Regions from separate parts of the Homo sapiens genome. Here region 1 is linked to region 2. The links are contacts of gene promoters, found by promoter capture Hi-C in human tissues and cell types (Jung and others, 2019). All regions are on one chromosome and are shown on one strand. Each heading gives the region's core, a stretch centred on a gene start or on the middle of the fragment in contact. The rest is flanking DNA. Distances are from core to core; before and after follow the strand shown.

Evidence for each region. Contacts are between HindIII fragments. The study calls those that stand out against the background at their distance.
Region 1: a contact is called between a fragment that was not itself captured here and the fragment with the promoter of CCL25 in region 2, in 1 of the 25 tissues and cell types used here (mesenchymal stem cells).

Annotation. Positions count from the first base shown.
Region 1 is chr19:8,240,054-8,242,834 of GRCh38, reverse strand. All of the region lies in intron 2 of CERS4 (ceramide synthase 4), which reads right to left. LOC107985282 (a long non-coding RNA gene) reads left to right here and starts at 2,341. Exons shown (of 2, transcript XR_001753859.2): 1 at 2,341-2,501; 2 at 2,750-2,781. RefSeq lists a silencer at 2,270-2,319. The HindIII fragment of the contact is 3,994 bases long and covers 1-2,781 here.
Region 2 is chr19:8,051,290-8,054,388 of GRCh38, reverse strand. It overlaps CCL25 (C-C motif chemokine ligand 25), which reads right to left and starts at 1,629. Exons shown (of 6, transcript NM_005624.4): 1 at 1,567-1,629; 2 at 1,267-1,389. The coding sequence starts at 1,339. The HindIII fragment of the contact is 31,009 bases long and covers 1-3,099 here.

The sequences.
Region 1 (2,781 bases), core at 58-2,557, 190 kb before region 2:
TGCCCAGCTTCAATGCCCACCAGTTTACTGACTGATACTCTGCTCCCACCAGACCATATCGTTTCACACATCCTAGCCTTTACAAATACTGGCCTCTGCCTAGAATGCTCATTTAGTATTTGGGTGCTGAAGACACAAAATGGTGGGGAAAACAAGCAACATCTCTGCCCTGAAGAGCTTAAACGCTTTCTTTCTCTGTTTGGCAAACTCCTATGCATCCTTCAAAACCCAGCTCAGTTGTCACCTCCTCCTGAAAGCAGCCCAATTGCCCTGCTTTGGATCCTGTTAAAGCACCCTCCCGCAACCCTGTCTTACTGTGATGTCAGGAGCTGGCCAGTGTTTTTGCAGGGAGGGTTGGAGAAGGAAGCATAACCAGTTCTAAACTCTCCTCTCCTCTGCTGAATCATGCCCATTGCTTCCTGAGTGGCACAGAAAGGGGAACAGATGCACTTTCTAAACCAGGGAGCTCTCCAAGGAGGCTTCAGACTGATATGCCCTGATTGCAGAGGTCTGGCCCCAGAGGTCCTACTCTCTCACTAACCTCACCAACCTGTCTCTGTCTCGTCCCTTCCCTCTTCTCCCTCTTAAAGCATAAATAAAAGATGCTGTGGTTTGAGAAAAGAACAGGGTCTGGAGCCCAGCAGACTGGCTGGAGTCCTAGCTGCAATGCTTCAAAGCCCTGGGAGCCTCAATTTCGTCACCTGTTGGTGGGACAGGTGCCCTCCCTGAAGGGTGGTTAAGCAGCTCAGAGACCTTGCACCTGGGGCATTGAGGCAGAGTCTGGCATATGGGAGGGGCTCAGGCATGGCTATAACCAGGCACCTCAGGCCAGCAAGGCTCAACTTCTCCTGAGGGAAGGGAGGAAATGAGGCTGAGGGATGTGTTCCTCAATTTCTAGCTTTTCTCTTTTGGATCCAGTTCTTCTGTTTGTTCCCTGTCATCCTCTGTCTTCCTGGGCCTCAGTTGTCCCATCTGAAAAATGGGTACAGCTAGATTCCCTCCTTGTTCTACCAGGCTATTGTGAGGCTCAGGGCAGGCGGGCAGTTTATAAACACTCCATGCTGATATCACAACGGATCTGATTCCTGATTCCTGCCTCACCCGTTTACCAGGCATGGAACGTGGCCTATCTGTGCCTCAGTTTTATCTGTAAAATGGAACAAACAATAGCCCCTCTTCCACATGGAGTGGTTCGGAATGGCACCTGAGGTGGAGTGAGCACCTAGTAAAATTTAGAGGACCGAGTGCAGTGGCTCACACCCAGCACTTTGAGAGGCCGAAGTGGGAGGATTGCTTAAGGTCAGGAGTTCGAGACCAGCCAGGGCAACATAGCAAGACAAAAAAATTTAAAAATTAGGTGGGCATAGTGACACACACCTGTAATCCCGGCTACTCAGGAGGCTGAGGTGAGAGGACTGGTTGAGCCCAGGAGTTTGAGGCTGCAGTGAGCTGTGATCACACCACTGCACTCCAGCCTGGGTGACGGAGCAGATCCTGTTTCGGAAAAAAACCCCCCAAAAAACAGCTTAGACTGTGATAGTTACTGCTAGACAGGAGGTGGGGGCAGGATGGGGAGTGGTCTGGAAAGAAGGGGTGCTGGCCTATGGAGGCTTCTAGATGGTTCTTCCAAGCCCTTAGGACGGTTTCCAGCATCTGAGGTGCCTAAGGCTGCTGGAAGCTTTCCTTGCCCCTGCCACCTTCCCTTAAAGCTGCAGCTGAAGTGTTTGGGCTGGGCTGGACGACAGCAGCTTCAGGGTCATCTGCAGAGCCACCGCGTGGGTGGCAGGGCCAGTGTGACCAGCCTCTTCTCCCCTCACCCCACCCGCCCCCAAGCCTGGCTGCTGTTTGAAGCCTCCCTGGCCCCACTCCCAGCTTGGCCCCTGCCACCTGGGAACCAAACTGATAATCCTTCTTAGTGGCTAAAAATAGCCCCAGATTGGGGGAAAGAGAGAGAATGGGGCTTTGTACTGACACGGGAGGTGGGTTAGGGGGCATGAGTAGAGGATCCCTGCCCCTCTTCAGGGGTCTGAGTGAGAAGGACTGGTTCCCACGGCTTCCCCGAACCCCCAAGGACCCTGGCACTGCTCAGCAGATCAGAGCTATGCACATAGGTTTGTTTTGTTTTGCTTTCAATCTAGCTGGAAATACAGGACTTGTCCATGGTTGTGAAAAAGGCAATTAATTCAGACCCCAGATGTCTGGGCCTCCCAGAGATGAAAACACACACACACACACACACACACACACACTTGCATACATTGACTCACTCACCCGCCCCTGCAGCCTGGCCCGCTGCCTGGGGTCACCTGATTCCTGCGGCCAGAGGCTCAGGCGGGAGCACGTGACATGCTGGAAGGAAGGGGGCTGTTTGCAGATAACCACAGCCTGCCTCTGCACCGGGTCCTGGCTGTCCCTTCCAGACGGACCTGTCTCTTCCACTCTGAGCCTCTCTGAGCAGAGGTCCCACAGGGTGTTAGTGACCAGAGATGCTGCCGGTTGAGGTACCACTCCCCCCAAAGACCCCAAGGTGGACCCCAAGTTCAAGGTTCCGCCTTACCTGAGCCCCTTATTTCTGCACACATTCCTGCCCTCTACATTCTGGCCCTGCTGCCTCCCCACCTCTGCCTCCCCAGCTTAATCCATAGCAACTGCTGCTTGCTGGGCTTCCAACTCACCAAGCTCACTTGTACCATGTTTGCACCCCAGACAGTCACATACATGTCTGACTGTGTTATCATTCTTATTTCAGCTCAAATGTCACCTCCTCCAAGAAGACTTCTC
Region 2 (3,099 bases), core at 380-2,879:
GAACCTCGGACTGCAGTGCCAGGCAGGTAGTTCCCAAGGCTGGAGGCCAGGATCGAAGGGCTGGGCTGGGCCTGGCTCTGATAGCAAAACAATCAGACCACAGCCCAACCCCCTTCCCAGGCAAAGGCCAAGGACTTGGACCCATCAGACCCAGCCGAGGGGCAGGTGGGTCAGGTGGGGGCAGACAGGGAAGGAGGGTGGGACCCTGGGTCTGCCGCCCAGCCAGGGACCCTGCTTTGGCCAGCTGCTGAAACTCAGAGGATGTAGGACCCAGTGTCAGGGCTCCCGTGGGGACACCCCAGGCCCAGGAATTGTCCTTTGGCGACTGAAATCCTCAAGTGCTTGCTCTGCGGTAGGGAGTGGGGAAGAAGGAAAGAGTTCCCTATTAATAACAGGAACAGTTACTATTGCCGCCGCCAGACATGAGGCCTAGTCTTTTGCAGGCATGAGCTCACTGGACCCTCAAGTCAGAGCCATGCAGTGGGAATTTTAGATTCCCACTTTGCAGCTGAGGAAACGGAGGCTCCTAAAGGTTTAGGAAGCCGGGCACAGTGGCTCAAACCTGTAATCCTAGCACTTTGGGAGGCTGAGGCAGGCGGATCGCCTGAGATCAGGAGATCGAGACTACTCTGGCCAACATAGTGAAACCCCATCTCTACTAAAAAATACAAAAATTAGCCGGGCATGGTACACACGCCTGTAGTCCCAGCTACTTGGGAGGCTGAGGCAGAAGGATCGCTTGAGCCCAGGAGGCGGAGGTTGCAGTGAGCCAAGATCGCGCCACTGCACTCCAGCCAGGGTGACAGAGTGAGACTCTGTCTCAAAAAAAAAAAAAAAAAAATGGTTTAGGAGCAACTAACTCTCAGCTGGACTGCATGGAGGGACCAGGATGGGAATCCACTCTTGTCAGTCTCCAGGGCCCTGATCTCCAACCCCACCCCTGGCTCGGCAGGATTAGGATTCTACAATACATCCCTGGCAGTAACTGGCTTTGCCCACAGCTGGAAGCCACCCTCTGCTCCCTCACATCTTTAGGAGTCTTGCAAAAGACTCCATGGGGCTCTCGAAGAAGGAACTGGGGACTCTCCATCTCCCCGACCCCATCCCAAGAGCTAACCAAACACCAGGAGTTCCTGCATGTCAGGAGCGGGAGAATTCAGTGGAGATGGGATTGGGGAGACTTCCGGAGGAGATAAGAGACAAAAGGGGTGGGGTGGGGGCATGGGGAGAGGGGCACTTGGTGGTAGGCATTGCCGAACACAGTACCTTGGGTGTGGACAGCGGGGGCCCAGGCTCCCAGGAAGCCGGCCACCAGGCAGGCCAGGAGCCACAGGTTCATGCTGCAGGCGGGTCCTCCTCCCTGGGCACCTGGACGAATAACGGGGCCACCTGGGGTCGTGGAGGGAAGTGGTAAGGACTGAGGAAGAGGAGGGGAGTGGGTACTGGGAACATCCCCCCTCTTAAGCCCCAGGCATATGGCAAGGGAAGGAGGTTGTATAAAGTAGGAACAAGTTGTGCTGGAGGGAAAAGCTGTTCATCTCAGTCATGTTCAAGGAAAAGACTCACCGATATCCACTGGGTCAAGGGAGCTGATGCCCGCCGGGCTGTAGGCCAAGCTGTCCCATCTGCAGGACCAACACGCTGAGCTTCACTCTTTATAGACAGAGCCCCACCCAGCCACCCCCTGCCCGCCCTCCTCCCTTCCTCCTCCTCTCCACCTGCACTCTCAGCCTCTGGAATTCTCCCTCTTCTACAGCAAGCTCCAACCTCGACCCACAGGCCCCCTTGCCTCCCCACTCCCCATCCCAGGCCTCCCAGCCAGCACCCCTACTGTCTCCAGAAAGGGCCTTTTCCCCTGTTTCCCTCACCTGCACACACCTGGTGGACACTGGCTGCCTGCGAACAAGGCTCAGACTGCCTTGAGCCCCCAAACAAGCCCTTACCTTCATGCTCCCCCCGCCCTCAAGCCACCTGTTCCCTGGTGGGTCCCCAACTTCACTCCATTTCCCTCTCCTTCCACACCATGGTTAGGTAACTTAGCATGTCACAGAAATCCTCTGGTTGTGATCACAGGCAAATCCATAGAAACAGAAAGTAAATTAGCGGTGGCCACAGGATGGGGGGAGGGGAGAATGAAGGACTGACTGTGAGAGGGTATGGGTTTCCTTTTGTTCTGAAATTAGATGAGAGTGATGGTTACATAACTCTATGAATATAGTCAGCACGGCACAATGGTGCACCTCCCACCGGTGAACAACCCCAACAAGAAAGAAACTCTCTAGGCCAGGCATGGTGGCTCATGTCTGTAAGCCCAACACTTTGGGAGGCCGAGGCCAGAGGATTGCTTGAGCCCAGGAGCTCAAGACCACCCCGGGCAATATAGAGAGACCTGCGTCACTACAAAAATTTTTTAAAAAATTAGCCTGACGTAGTAGTGCATACCTGTAGTCCCAGCCACTCAGGAGGCTGAGGTGTGAGGATTGCTTGAGCCTTGGAGGTTGAGGCTGCAGTGAGCTGTGATCATGCCACTGCACTCCAGCCTGGGCAACAGAGCAAGACCCTGTCTCAAAAAATGGAAAAAAAAACGGTGGCCGGACACAGTGGCTCACACCTGTAATACCAGCACTTTGGGAGGCCGAGGCAGGCGGATCCTCTGAGGTCAGGAGTTCGAGACCAGCCTGGCCAACATGGCAAAACCCCATCTCTACTAAAATTACAAAAATTAGCCGAGTGTGGTGGGGGGGCACCTGTAATTCCAGCTACTCAGGAGGCTGAGGCAGGAGAATCGCTTGAACCCGGGAGGCGGAGGTTGCAGTGAGCCGAGATTGGGCCACTGCATTCCAGCCTGGGCGACAAGAGTGAAACTCTGTCTCAAAAAAAAAAAAAAAAAAAAAAACAAAAGAAAAAGAAAAAATGGAAGAAATGTTTTGTTTTTGGAAGAAAAGCCAGGAGCCCCGGGTAGCCATGCCCTCAGGAAGCAAAGCAACATTCACCGAGAAGGCATGTCTTTTTTTTTTTTCTTCTGAGACGGAGTCTTGCTCTTTTGCCCAGGCTGGAGTGCGGTGGCGCTGTCTCGGCTCACTGCAAGCTCCGTCTCCC